Linked DNA regions of Homo sapiens: all the other regions are linked to region 5. Evidence: promoter capture Hi-C in 16 types of primary human blood cells and fetal thymus (Javierre and others, 2016). All regions are on one chromosome and are shown on one strand. Each heading gives the region's core, a stretch centred on a gene start or on the middle of the fragment in contact. The rest is flanking DNA. Distances are from core to core; before and after follow the strand shown. Region 1 overlaps PPM1E (protein phosphatase, Mg2+/Mn2+ dependent 1E). Region 2 has its middle 120 kb from the start of TRIM37. Region 3 overlaps PPM1E (protein phosphatase, Mg2+/Mn2+ dependent 1E). Region 4 overlaps PPM1E (protein phosphatase, Mg2+/Mn2+ dependent 1E). Region 5 holds the start of PPM1E (protein phosphatase, Mg2+/Mn2+ dependent 1E).

Region 1 (2,700 bases), core at 164-2,663, 210 kb after region 5:
GCATGTTAGAGAAGGAAAACATTTAGTCTCATTATTCTGAATGACAAATGCAGTGGAGGAGAAAGGATGGGCAACAATGATGCCAGGAGATTGGTTCATTTGAATCATGCTATACCCAACTCCCATAACTGTTCTGTGTTTCTGTTGACAGGACCAGGAAGAACAAGCTTACTTTGCAGTGTTTGATGGCCATGGGGGAGTAGATGCTGCTATTTATGCCTCCATTCACCTCCACGTTAACTTAGTCCGCCAGGAGATGTTCCCCCATGATCCTGCTGAGGCCCTGTGCAGGGCCTTCCGGGTCACTGATGAGCGGTTTGTGCAGAAAGCAGCCAGGGAGGTATGCCCCTTTCTCATAAGTTCCAGCTAGAAATGTACTAGCTGAGCTCAATTTGGTCTGTGTGGTTAAAGGGCTATTTAGATTTTCTCTTTCTGGGCAGACATTATCCAAACTGTATTCTTGACTCACAGTATTGGATTCTGTTGTAGTTCCAATTCCCTCCTCAGGAAGAGTTTCAGGGGGTACAATGAGGTACTGTATAGAAAATCTCAAGCTGTAATTTTCTGGATTCATTTCTGTAATAACTGCTGGATTTGGCAGGTGAGTTTCATCTTTCTTTTATTCACCATTGCCTGTCAGGTTCACACCAGGACCATCTCTCTAAGCAGACTCTTGCTGACAAGATCTGGATATGGTGAATAAAACAATGGTCTAAAAAAGAAACAGAAACTGGGATTACTTCCATACATTTGGTTCTAAATGGGTAGGCAGTGTTTTGCTGTGTATCTCTTGAGGGAAAATTCGCTTGGAGAGGGTGAATCCTTAAATGATCCTTGAGCTGATTTTTCTCTTAATAGGGAGAAAAGAAGAGCTCATGTCCTACATTGCGAAGGTTAATCAGACCTAAGTTTTTTTTACTTTGAATAAATGGCAAGGGCTCTATATTAAGGTCTAAAAGTAAAAAAATTAATCTAATTATCGTTCTGGGTATTGGTACATAATTAACTACAGTGTTCTATATTGGATTTTTAACTGGGGACGAATAAAAGAATTTTTAATTTTTAAAAATAATTACAGAAGTAGATACAGACAAAAAATAAGACTCCTGCCCTGTGACTTAAACATTAACTCTTTTTAAAATGGGCTTGGAGAGATCAGGGTAATCATTTAATCCATTTTTTGATAGCATAGTTATGCTACAAGCAATAATGGGGCTTAGAATTAATGAAACAATAACTCAGACCTATTTGGTATTAAGAAAGAGAATTATTCTTCATCTCTCCCCTCCCCTAAGTTTGGATTAATATGCAAATCCAACAGTAACCAGTAGAGTCCACACAAAGAGGTGGGTCTGGAGAATAAAGCCACTCTTGACCTCAGAGCTCCAGTCTCTTGAGGACCTGCATTCTGCTTGGCTCTGCCTCTCTTGAAGCTGTGGGCTTTTATCATCTGAGTCGAGGACAAGGGCCGGCCCCTGAGAGGTGACCCGTAATCATCAATGTGAAACAAAGAGATTCACTCTGTCTTCTTCATCCTCTATTCTATTCTTTTTTTCCTCTGTCTTCTCAAAATTATGTGTTGTTGTTGTTGTTGTTGTTTTCTGACCATGTTTACCTCATTTGTTTTGTCAGTGACCCTGGTGTCTCTCAGTTCTGCCAATAGTTCTGAATAATTTAGGTTTGTCTCAGCGCCCCTTTTCTCCTTCTTATGCTTCCATGTGCTGCTAACTGCTGGGAAGAAAACAGCTATTCCTGTTATGAAGCAGCCCTGCCTCCTGTTCTCTCCAGGGCATATGCACTGAAGTGTGTTTATCATGTGTTCTAGGGGGCTGAGTTTTTGAACATTCTGTGTGGGAAGACATTTTATTGGTGGGTGAGGATTTATAACAAACTTTCCCTATATAGGGAAAACGAGAAGTTGTTTTTCTCATTGGATACAAGAGACCTTTTACCACCCCTGACGCATTGGTTCTAATTTAGGCCAGGTCCTTAGTAACAGAAAGTCATGCTCATTTGGTGGTGACTCATGTCAAATGGGGATGTCATTTTCGTATAGTAGGACCAAGAGCTTTAAGTACAGTCGTAGCTACTGCAGTGAAATTCCAGGCTGTTAGTTCTTTATGCAATGTTCCAAAAGCAAAGACCCCTAAAAATACTGTAGGAAGGATATTTTTTTAAAGGTATAAGCATCTTAGTACTCCAGGGAACGTAAGCTGTCTCTTGGCCCCTTAGCTTAATTTCCAGAGATTAGAGCATCTGTTGTGTACCAATCAGATGTTTTATATATCATTTTATACAGCTAGGACTCTCCCACTGAACAAATACGATGTCAGTAATGAAATGGAGAGCAGAATATAGAAATTTTTACTCTGAGGATTGGTATAGAGGATTTAGTGCTTGACTGGGAGGAAAAAGAATTTCAATTCTGTCTTATATACTAATAGTTACCTGCCCTTGGGCAAGTCACATAACCTGCCATAGTTTTCTTATCTATATTTAAAGTGGAATTAATAATCATCCTCGCCCTGCATATCACAGATCAGGTGGACTTATGTGTGTATATACACATAAATACATACATGCATATACAAATGCATTGAGACAATGAATTATTATATATGTGTGAAATTCCATTATTAATAGTATAGCTCCCAGCTGAAAAGCTTAATTATAAATTGCTTCTCAATAAGAATGTAGTAT
Region 2 (2,700 bases), core at 162-2,661, 230 kb after region 5:
CCAAACGAGTCAACCTTGTCAATACACTGCACTGTTCTCCTGCCTACCAGTAAAGAAGGCCTTTACAATTAATTTTACATAGTTTCAAAAATCTTCAACTCCTAATTCCCTAAATTCATTCAGTCCTTGGCATGACTTTATATAGAACCAAATGAACAATTGAGAAAAAAAAGGTGAAGTTTTGAAAGAAGGACATATTTGAAGGGGTTTACTGAAGCAGGGAATGACAGAAAAGGAACATTTTGATTAGTAAGTGTTACACTTGAAAAAATTCCCTAAAATATAGTATTACTTAGATCAAAAGGAACACCTCTTTCTGAAGGAGCAGCACACAGCAAGACAGAAGGGAACCACTAGGTACAGTAAAATCATTTGAACATCATAGAAATTTACCCAAGTTACCAAATTATCAGAAACAACTGTCTGTACTGACAAGCTGCATAACTGAGCATTCCCCCCCACACCCGCCCCCTGTTGCTGTCAGTGTGCATCATTTCCTTTCCTTCTTTTGAGATGGAGTTTCATTCTGTCACCCAGGCCGGAGTGCAGTGACGTGATCTTGGCTCACCACAACCTCTGCCTCCCAGGTTCAAGCGATTTTCCTGCCTCAATCTCCCAAGTAGCTGGGATTACAGGCGCCCGCCACCACACCCAGCTCATTTTATTATTATTAGTGGAGGTGGGGTTTCACCATGTTGGCCAGGCTGGTCTCGAACTCCTGACCTCAGATGATCCACCCTCCCACCTCGGCCTCCCTAAGTGCATCATTTTCTTTTTGATTGCAAGTTTCCATCTGTCTTTTTTTTTTTTTTTTTTCTTTTTTGAGACAAGAGTCCTGCTGTGTCACCCTGGCTGGAGTGCAGTGGTGCAATCTCGGCTCACTGCAACCTCTGCCTCCCAGGTTCAAGCAATTCTTGTGCCTCAGCCTCCCAGGATGCTGGGATTACAGGCGTCGGCCACCACGCCTGGCTTTTGTGTTTTTAGTAGAGACGGGGTTTTGCCATGTTGGCCAGACTGGTCTTGAACACCTGACCTCAAGTGATCTGCCTGCCTTGGCCTCCCCAAGTGCTGGGATTTACAGGTGTGAGACACCACGCCCAGCCCCATCTGTCATCTTAACAGCAATTAGTAAAGAACACTTTTTCTATTGTGCTTTAGGGAACCTCCTTTTGCTTGGCCTAGGAATAACCTTATGGAAGATCCCTTACTTACATTTAAAACAAGTCACATTCTTTTCTGAGAGCCCCAACTGTTGAATATGTTTAGTAAGAAGCGCTCTTCCCTGGGCAGTTGGTTGAGCCTGCCTCTTATGCTGAGCTGTAGGATGCTGCCCCAGTCACGCAACCTCCAGATGAAGTGTGTCCTCTCCTCATTGTGCAAACAAGGGCCCTCACACACAGGTTCTATTTGATTTTTATAATCTTGCTTTAGGACCAGGGAAACAAATGTGAAAAACTGTCAAGAATGATACACATTTGGGGAAACCATTTTCCAAATGAGTAACTGGAGTTTAACTAAAGATGATGAAAAAGTTGTCCCTGCTAGTCATTACATTGAGTAGTATGACAGCTACAGGATTAGGGGTGGCCAATTAAGCCAAATCGAGTTGCTACGGGTTCACTAGGTCAAATGAAACCCAGTGGGAGGTGAGCCTATGCAGCAGCCTTTCCCAAATGCACACCAGGAGACACTGACTGACCTGAAGGTCTCGGGCAAGGACTCTGGCCCGCAGGGTCTGCAGAGCAGGAATGGAAGGGAGACTCCCGGTCAACATGCCAGCCAGAGAAAAGGATTTTAGAAAGAGAGCAGCCCGTACTACTGATGTCCCAAACTACACTGTGGCTAATCTTACCATTTGCTCTTAAGCATCCCTAAGCAGAGTTCTAAAACTTCTATAAATCTAGACTATGAAGGCATGTATTGGTAGATGTGAGAATGAGAGGTAGAATGAGGAGAAATCTAAAAATATTACCACATAAAAATTCAAATGAATATGCAAAAAAGAAAATAGCTCTTGGGGTTTTCTATTTCCCAAATTTTTCTAATCTTATCACCTTTATAATTCAAACATTTAAAAAACTAGATAAAAAAATTAAAAATGGCTCATTTTCTGAATTCTGGTTTTAGGATTAATTACACTCATGTTTTACATTCAATAAAATGTGTGTTTTACATATATACATTTTTAAATCACAGCACTTCCAGCTTCCACTCCGGGATGTAGGGGTAGAAGGAGCATTTCTTCTACTCTTACAATGCAAACGAGCCAGATGAACTATAAATTAGGACATTTTTTCGAATCCATTGGAAAGCTGAGGTTGCAGAGTAACCAAGTGGCACCAAATGGAGAGGGGCAGTTGCCTGCAAGGGGAGAGAAGACATTAGCACTAGTTTCGTAGGGTCGTTGTAAACAGACACTGGAAAGAATAGGCTAGCTAAAAGTGATGATTGGTGAAGGCAGAATATGGGCTGCAGGAGTGTTAAGACCCGGGGGCCTGCAGAAACTAGGGGAGTCGCCCTATCTTGCAGGCTTTTTCTTTACAATCTCTACCAGGGGCTCAGAAAATACTGTAAAGAGCCCTAAGAAGTGTCGGCTGTGACACACACCCAGGGGAGTATACAGCGGCCTTGGGCATGGGTAAAGGAACTTACCATACCCTTTCTCTCATCTCACAGAACAAAAGCACCCTATGAGGGAAA
Region 3 (2,700 bases), core at 112-2,611, 190 kb after region 5:
AACTCCTGGCCCCAACCTTACCCCCTTGCAAAGTACCAAAATTACAGACATAAGCCACTATGCCTGGCAGATTTGCAAATATTTTCTACCAGTCTATGGGTTGTCTTTTCACTTTACTGATTTGTGATACAAAAGTTTTAAATTTTGATGTAGTCCAATTTAATATTTTTTTTCTTTTCTGCTTGTGCTTTTGGTGTCAGAGCTAAGAAAACCATTGCCTAATCCAAGGTCATGAAGATTTACTCTTTTAGGAGTTTTCTTTTAGGAGTTTTATGAGTTTTAGCTTTACATTTAGGTCTGTGATGCATTTGGCATTAATTTTTGTATATGGTGTAAGGAAGGGGTCCAACTTGATTATTTTGCATGTGGATATCCAATTTTTCCAGCACCATTTGACCATTTTGTTAAACAGAAAGTTATTTTCCTTTTTCCTGTTTTTTTTTTTTTTTTTTTTTTTTTTTTAGACAGTCTTGCTCTGTTGCCCAGGCTTGAGTGTGATCTGCCCACCTCGGTCTCCCAAAGTGTTGGGATTACAAGTGTGAGCCACACTCCTGGCCTTTTTTTTTTTTTTTTTTTTTTTGAGACAGTCTTGCTTTATCACCCAGGCTGGAGTGCAGTGACGTGATCTCAGCTCACTGCAACCTCTGCCTCTTGGGTTCAGGCGATTCTCATGCCTCAGCCACCCAAGTAGCTGGGATTATAGGCGTGCACCACCACACCCAGCTAGTTTTTGTATTTTTGGTAGAGACAGGGTTTCACCATGTTAGCCAGGCTGGTCTTGAATTCCTGGTCTCAGGTGATCCACCCACCTTGGCCTCCCAAGGGGCTGGGATTACGGGTACGAGACACTGCACCTGGCCTTTTTTTTTTTTTTTTCACTTATTTGACCTCTCAGCAATTGACAGAGTTCACTGCTCCCTCCTTCAAATACTCTCTACTATCTCGGTTCTCCTTTTACAGATTTTGCCATTTCTCTTTAGTCTTCATAGGTCCCTTGTCTTCTACTAAGCTTCTAAATATTGGGTTTTCAGTTATTGTCACTGTATTGCAAATTACCACAAAACTTAGTGGCATAAAACAATTATTTATTATGCTCACAATGTCTTTCAGTCAGAAATTAAAACTGGGTAAAGCAAGGTCACCTTATCTCTGTTCCAACTGGGGTCTCTGTTGGAAGACTCAGGCTGGGGGACTGGAATCATCTGAAGGCTTGTGAACTTACATGTCAAGCAATTGATAATGGCTACTGCCTGGGAGACCTCAGGCTACATCCACATGAGCCTGTTCATGTGGTTTCTCCACATGGCTAGTTTGGGCTTCCTCATGGCTTGATGGCTTGGCTGAGTATGAAGAGCAAGTATCCAGAGGGAGACAGAGGAAGAAAGAAGAGGAAGCCGGGGGAAGCCACGTGGCCTTTTATGAACAAACTTCAAAAGTCACACAGTATCACTTTTGCTACATTTTTTTCATCCGAGTAGTCACCACACCTCACCCATGTTTAGATTAGGAAGGGAAACAGACTCTATTTTTTTATGGGGAATGGCAAAGTTCTAAAATAGCATGCGGGACCAGGAATGCTGTTGCGGCCTTTTTAAAAATAATCTGCCACAGTCTTTTCTGGCCACACAATTCACATCCTTCCCATGTGCTAAATGCACTCACCCAACATCCCCTAAGATTTCCCAAAGTCTAATCCCATTATGGTATTAGGCTGAAGCTTGAGGTCCAAGATTTCATTGAGGCCAAGACCATGGCAGATAAGATTTCTTATCTGGCAAGTAAGGTTTCTTCCTTTAAAAAAAAATTCTCCAATGAGAGTTTAATTTTTATGTTTATCAAAGTGTATACTATATTAGATCATTTGTGTACCAGTAGTTACACTGATAAGGCAATGAAAAAGAAAATGTTTAACGCTGGAGCCTTATGGTCACAGAAAGTTTTTAAAAATTTAATTTCAATTTTCATACATATTTTTACTGCAGAGACATATTATATACTGCTTTGGCTGAGTCCCATAGGTTTTGGTATGTTGTGTTTCTGTTTTCATTTGTTTCAAGGAATTAGTCAATTTCCTTCTTAATTTCTTTCTTCACCCATTGGTTGTTTAGGAGCATGTTGTGTAATTTCCATGTATTTGTGTAATTTTGAATGTTTCACTTGTTATTGGTTTCTAGTTTTATTCCATAGTCAGATAAGATACTTGATATGACTTCAATTAAAAAAATTTTTTTAGCCTTGTTCTGTGTCCTAACATGTAGTCAATTCTGGAGAATGTTCCATTTGCTAATAAAAAGAATGCATATTCTGCAGCTGTTGGGTGAAATGTTCTGTAAATGTCTGTTAGAGCTATGCTATGGTTTATCTGATGTTTCCTTGTTGATTTTCTGCCTAGATGATTTCTGCAATGCTGAGTTGGGTGTTGAAGTCCCCAGCTGTTATTGTATTGGCATCTGTCTCTTCCTTTAGATCTAATAGTATTTTCTTTATGAATCTGGGTGTGCTGGTCTTAGGTGCATGTATATTTACAATTGTTATAGCTTCTTGAATTGTTTCCTTAATTACTATATAATGTCCTTCTTTGTCTCTTTTTATAGCTTTCGACTTAAAGTCTGTTTTAGCTGATATAAATATAGCTTTTCCTGCTTGCTTTTGGTTTCCATTTGCGTGGAATATCTCTTTCCATCCCTTCACTTTCAGTCT
Region 4 (2,700 bases), core at 111-2,610, 150 kb after region 5:
TTCCTTTTTGTAGAGACAGGCTCTTGCTATGTTGCCCTGTCTGGTCTTGAACTCCTGGCCTCAACTGATCCCCCCATAGCACTGGGATGACAGGTGTGAGCCACCATGGCTGACCTCTCCTTTGCTTTTGAAGGAATATTGCAGGGTACAGAATTCTAGGTGGGTGGTTTTTTTCTCTCAACCCTTTTTTCACTCTGTTCTCTTCTTGCTTGCATGGTTTCTGAGGAAAAGATAGATACAATTCTTCTCTTTGCTCCTCTGTAAGTAAGGTGTTTTATTTTTCTGGCTTCTTTCAAGATTTCATTCTTTATCCTTGATTTTCTATAGTTTAAAATGATATTCCTAGGTACAGGGTTTTTGTTTTTGTTTTTTGACATTTATTCTTCTTGGTGTTCTCTGAGATTTCTGGGTCTGTGATTTGGTGCCAAGACATTACCTTGGGGAAATTCTTAGTCATTTTTCTTTCTTTCTTTCTTTCTTTCTTTTTTCTTTTTCTTTTTTTTTTTTTTTTTTTTGAGACTGGAGTGCAGTGGTGCTATCTTGGCTCACTGCAAACTCCACCTCCTGGATTCAAGTGATTCTCCTGCCTCAGCCTCCCAACTAGCTGGGATTATAGGTGCCCGCCACCACACCCAGATAATTTTTGTATTTTTGGTAGAGAAGGGGTTTTGCCATGTTGGCCAGGCTGGTCTTGAACTCCTGACCTCAGGTGATCCACCCGCCTCGTTGCCCCACAGTTCTTGAGTATTCTGTTCTGTTTTTTTCAGTCCTTATTTGCTTTTCAGTTTTGGAGGTTTCTATTGTATATCCTCAAGCTTAGAAATTCTTTCCTAAGCCAAGTCCAGGCTACTAATAAGCCCATCAAAAGCTTTCTTCATTTCTTTTACAGTGTTTTTTATCTCTAGCATTCATTTTGGCTCTTTCTTTAGATTTCCACCTCTCTGCTTATACCGCCCATCTCTTTTTGCATGTTGTCTACGTTATCCATTAGAGCCCTTAGCATATTAATCATAGTTGTTTTAAATTCCTGGTATGATAATCCCAACCTCTCCACCATATCTAGTTCTGATACTTGTTCTGTCTTTTCAAAATTTTTTTTGCTTTTAGTATGTCTTGTAATTTTTTCTTAATAGCCAGACATGATGTATAGGGTAAAAGGAACTGCTATAAATAGCCCTTTAGTAATGTGGTGATAAGGTATGTAGTTAGGGGAAACTAGTCCTGTAATTAGACTTCATTCTTTTAGTGAGGCTGTACTTATGGACTGTGAGCTTCACATATTGTTCTCAGGGTTGGTTTTGTTTTTTCCTCCACCTTAGGTGGGACAAGAAGGCTAGAGTGAGCTGGAGATGGGTATTGCCCTTCCCCTAGGTCAGTTAGGCTCTGATAAACCCCATCACATTAGACTCTGGTTAGCTAGTTTCTTCTGAAAGAAGACCTTATTAAGAAGAAGAGGGTGCTCTGCCGCATTTCAACATGGTTCCTTTTCCCCTCCTCTTGCCAGATTCATGAGGGGATTTTTTTCTGATACTCACTGTGATGACCTGGTAGAGCTCCTGGAGGTGAAACTCACAAAAGTGTGGGGAGCCCCTCTGACTGGGTCTTCCTGGAGTTTTTGACTATCAGACTTCTACACCTAGTCTCCAGCAGTTTGTCAATTACAGTTCAGGTTTTCTTACCCTGGAATTGGTTCCTATGGAGGTGTCTGATGGGTATGTTTTATAATTCTCTGTATACACCTGTCCAATTTTAGGAGCAACTGTGACCTCACTTCTCTTAAGAATCTAAGAAGTATTGTTGGTTTTGCAGTTTGCTTAGCTTTTTACTTGTTGTTAGGTTGGAGTGGCCACTTCCAAGCTTCTTACAAGTGGAACCAAAGCTGGAAGTCTTCCCTCTATTGTTAAAATAATTCTCTTCAAATTTTTTTCTCTTTATTTTAATTGTAACACAGGAATAGGGGATAACATTTAACCACCATTTGTGTACTACAGAATAGTCAGGGCCATACTAAAGATTGGAGTAGGCCTTAGGACCAGATGAAATAAGCATCTGGTTATTTCATGATTTCATCATGATTTCAAAGGGTCAGTTGAAGGCTTTTCAGGTGCATTTAAAAGTATCTCTACTGGTTAATAAGAATAATATCTAAAATTGTAACACTAGAGGTTTATTTCTTTGGTTTATTGTTCTTGTTAAAATGCAGATAACCCTGAAGCGTTTTTCTTTTGTACGTTTTTAATATAAAGTCATTCATTCATTCAACAAATACTTATTGAATGCCTACTGTATACTAGGTGCTGTTCTGGGTGCTGAAGATAAATAAGTGAACATTATTGATTGAGTCCTTGTGGAGGGCAAGAGTGAGATAGACATTCATTCACAAATAAATAATAAGAAAGATGTTAAGAAGGTACTTTTTTTAAGAGAGTGAGTGTTAGAAACAAGAGCTCAGAGTCGCAAGGAAAACAAGCACTCAAACCATTTCTCAGCAAGGCAAATTTACTTGTGCAGAAGGGTGCCGCTTGCACTTCTGGCCTCTGCGAGAGCACACCAAACAAAGGAGAGAAGGATTTTTTATCCCTAACGCAGTCCCTATCCCTGTGTCCTTCCCCTATTGGCTAGGGTTGAACTGTACAATCTAAGCTGACCCTGGTTGGCTAAGACTTAAACTTTTCCAATTAGGGTAAACACACGATTTGC
Region 5 (2,700 bases), core at 37-2,536:
TGCCTGAAAACTAATGGGTAAAATCCATTGAAGTGGGTGAATCCAGTGAAAAGACCTGGATTGAGTCCTTGTTGCATCCCTTGCATGTGACCTTGAGCAAAGTCACCATGTCTTTAAGGCTGTTTTCTCACCTATAAAATGGAATAATTGGCCGGCGTGGTGGGTCACACCTGTAATCCCAGCACTTTGGGAGGCTGAGGCAGGCAGATCACCTGAGGTCAGGAGTTTGAGACCAGCCTGGCCAATATGGTGAAACCCCGTCTCTACTAAAAATACAAAAGTTAGCCGGGGGTGGTGGCAGGCCCCTGTAATCCCAGCTACTTGGGAGGCTGACGCAGGAGAATCACTTGAACCCGAGAGGCGGAGGTTGCAGTGAGCTGAGATCGCGCCACTGCACTCCAGCCTGGGTGACAAGAGCGAGATTGTCTCAAAAAAAAAAAAATCATAACGGTAACGTCCTATACCTCAAGGGACTGTGGTAAGAATTAAAAGGGTGAAATCAATGTGTAAACTATGAAGCCCAATAGAAATAAGGTGTTATACAGACAATTGCACTATTGAATCTCCGGAGACAGAGTTGAGTTAAGGAAAAATGCACTTTCGGAAAGCTTTGGCGACTGAACGACCTGAGTTCTCCAACGCCAAGGCTGGAAGTTTGGAGACCTTGAAACAAGTAAATTACCATTAATATCATAATTTTCAGTTTCCTTTTAAGAAATGAGAGTAACACCACTTTCTTCACAGAATCAAGTGAGAGAGAACCTATGCAAAGGAACTTATCACTTGGTAGGTATTTGAAGCTCCCTCTGCCTGAAAACTACTTATTCAAAGACTGCAACAAAAGGTGTTCACAGTGTGGTATCTTTCAAAACATACGCTAAGGCAAGGAACAGATAAGGAAATGGAAGTACATCCAATTGGGATCCAAGCAACCCAAGTGGGAACCAACAGCTAGACTTGGAGATGTCTTAGCTCACTCTTAACCACGTGAGGGTAGGGTATCCAACCAATAAAGACATTCAGAGTTGGAGAGCGGGCGAGTGGAGTGTCCTTTAGACTCCGCGGACTCGACGGGAGGGACCCTGCAATGCTTAATTAGAACCGGTTGCCATGGCGACAGTCTCTAGGCAGCGTGGGCTGAGCTCTCCGTAGGAATAAAGGGTGGGCCGCCGCTGGACCCTGCGCGCGCCCGCCACCAACTTTCCCTCCAGATCCGAGAGGGGCGGCGCGCTCCGCCCCCGGGCCGCGCACGTCGGTGCTCGGCGGCGCGCACGCCTGCGGGAGCCCTCTCCAGGCAACCTAGTGCTGATCGCTCGTGCCGGTGCGGCCGTTAACCGCCCTTGCCGGAGCCCTAGGCTCAAAAGCAGCCCCTTACCCTTCCTGGGCTTCCCCCAACCCCTTTCCCGGTCTGCCCTGGGGCATGAGCAGCGATGGCCGGCTGCATCCCTGAGGAGAAAACTTACCGGCGCTTCCTGGAGCTATTCCTGGGCGAGTTTCGCGGACCGTGCGGCGGCGGCGAGCCGGAGCCGGAACCCGAACCCGAACCCGAACCCGAACCCGAGTCCGAGCCCGAGCCCGAACCTGAACTGGTAGAAGCTGAGGCGGCCGAGGCTTCGGTAGAGGAACCCGGGGAGGAGGCGGCCACGGTAGCCGCGACGGAGGAGGGGGACCAGGAGCAAGACCCGGAGCCCGAGGAGGAGGCGGCGGTTGAGGGTGAGGAGGAGGAGGAGGGCGCGGCGACGGCGGCGGCAGCCCCGGGGCACTCGGCCGTGCCGCCGCCGCCGCCCCAGCTGCCGCCTTTGCCCCCGCTCCCGCGACCGCTGTCAGAGCGCATCACCCGCGAGGAGGTGGAGGGCGAAAGCCTGGACCTGTGCCTGCAGCAGCTCTACAAATAGTTAAGTAGCTGGGCTTGGCTGGTGGTGGGCCCGCGGTCCCCACCGCGCCGGCCTCGGACGCGGCTCCCTCGGCCCCTCAAACTGCTCTCTTTTCTGCTCCTCTCCCCCGCACCCGCGCCTGCCGCCGCTGAAAGCGCCCCCGCTGCTCGGACCCGGGCGGTCGGCTGAGAGCTGCCCACGCCCGCCTCGGCCCCCACGCCCGCCTCGGCCCCCACGCCTCCTACCCGGCCTTGAAGCCGCTCTCCTGAGCCCCGGCGCCCTCCCGCCGGGCCCGGGCCCCTCATCCCCTTTCACCTCGGCCCCCAGCTTCTAGCTCCACTTCACGCAACCTTTCCCTTTCCTGCCTGGAAAGGTCCTTCCTCCCAGGCTTGAGCTCCCTCTTCTTCCCAGATCCCTTCTTTCTCCGGGAGGTTTCCTCCCACCCCAGTCTGTCTTTTCCCGGGCTGAGTGCCTTGTTGTTTGGCGGCAGAGACGCGACTCCTTTCTAGACTGAGCTGCGAGGTGCCTCCTGCGTAACTGCAACAATGATGGTTATACCGGCCCCGTATCCAGATGAGAGAATGGAGTAGATTTTCCGTCAGGTGCTCAGTGTTGAAAGTGAAGGGCTTTTTAGATGTTTTCACACAGGGAAGCCTAGTCTCTTAGTTTAGACATTTGACATTCCATAATTGAGGGAAGTGGGAAGGAATTGAGAGGGAAGGGTAAGCAAAATTTTGCAAGCAAGCCTTCGGGTGAAAGAGCCATAATTCATTAAAGTGGAAAAGTCAGGCTGTTTTGATTAAATTGCAATTAGGTGCAGTATTTT

Evidence for each region. Contacts are between HindIII fragments. The CHiCAGO score rates a contact against its expected background, and 5 or more counts as called.
Region 1: a fragment that was not itself captured here is called in contact with the fragment with the promoter of PPM1E in region 5 in 4 of 17 cell types (erythroblasts, megakaryocytes, endothelial precursors and 1 more); the score reaches 6.0 in erythroblasts.
Region 2: a contact is called between a fragment that was not itself captured here and the fragment with the promoter of PPM1E in region 5, in 6 of 17 cell types (megakaryocytes, naive B cells, naive CD8 T cells and 3 more). The highest score is 7.3, in megakaryocytes.
Region 3: a fragment that was not itself captured here is called in contact with the fragment with the promoter of PPM1E in region 5 in 3 of 17 cell types (erythroblasts, endothelial precursors and M0 macrophages); the score reaches 7.6 in erythroblasts.
Region 4: a fragment that was not itself captured here is called in contact with the fragment with the promoter of PPM1E in region 5 in 1 of 17 cell types (M1 macrophages); the score reaches 5.5 in M1 macrophages.

The regions. Positions count from the first base shown.
Region 1 is chr17:58,969,388-58,972,087 of GRCh38, forward strand. PPM1E (protein phosphatase, Mg2+/Mn2+ dependent 1E) reads left to right here. Exons shown (of 7, transcript NM_014906.5): 4 at 152-340. It also overlaps a transcript of TRIM37 not described here. Among named protein-coding and RNA genes, the nearest start is that of TRIM37, 140 kb to the right of the region's middle. The HindIII fragment of the contact is 2,496 bases long and covers 166-2,661 here.
Region 2 is chr17:58,985,707-58,988,406 of GRCh38, forward strand. It overlaps a transcript of TRIM37 not described here. Among named protein-coding and RNA genes, the nearest start is that of TRIM37, 120 kb to the right of the region's middle. The HindIII fragment of the contact is 3,205 bases long and covers 1-2,700 here.
Region 3 is chr17:58,946,677-58,949,376 of GRCh38, forward strand. The region is part of intron 1 of PPM1E (protein phosphatase, Mg2+/Mn2+ dependent 1E); the gene reads left to right. Among named protein-coding and RNA genes, the nearest start is that of TRIM37, 160 kb to the right of the region's middle. The HindIII fragment of the contact is 708 bases long and covers 1,008-1,715 here.
Region 4 is chr17:58,909,430-58,912,129 of GRCh38, forward strand. All of the region lies in intron 1 of PPM1E (protein phosphatase, Mg2+/Mn2+ dependent 1E), which reads left to right. Among named protein-coding and RNA genes, the nearest start is that of PPM1E, 150 kb to the left of the region's middle. The HindIII fragment of the contact is 989 bases long and covers 867-1,855 here.
Region 5 is chr17:58,754,568-58,757,267 of GRCh38, forward strand. It overlaps PPM1E (protein phosphatase, Mg2+/Mn2+ dependent 1E), which reads left to right and starts at 1,287. Exons shown (of 7, transcript NM_014906.5): 1 at 1,287-1,894. The coding sequence starts at 1,431. LOC105371843 (a long non-coding RNA gene) reads right to left here and starts at 1,543. Exons shown (of 3, transcript XR_007065866.1): 1 at 1,464-1,543. RefSeq lists silencers at 1,106-1,295, 1,295-1,443. The HindIII fragment of the contact is 8,580 bases long and covers 607-2,700 here.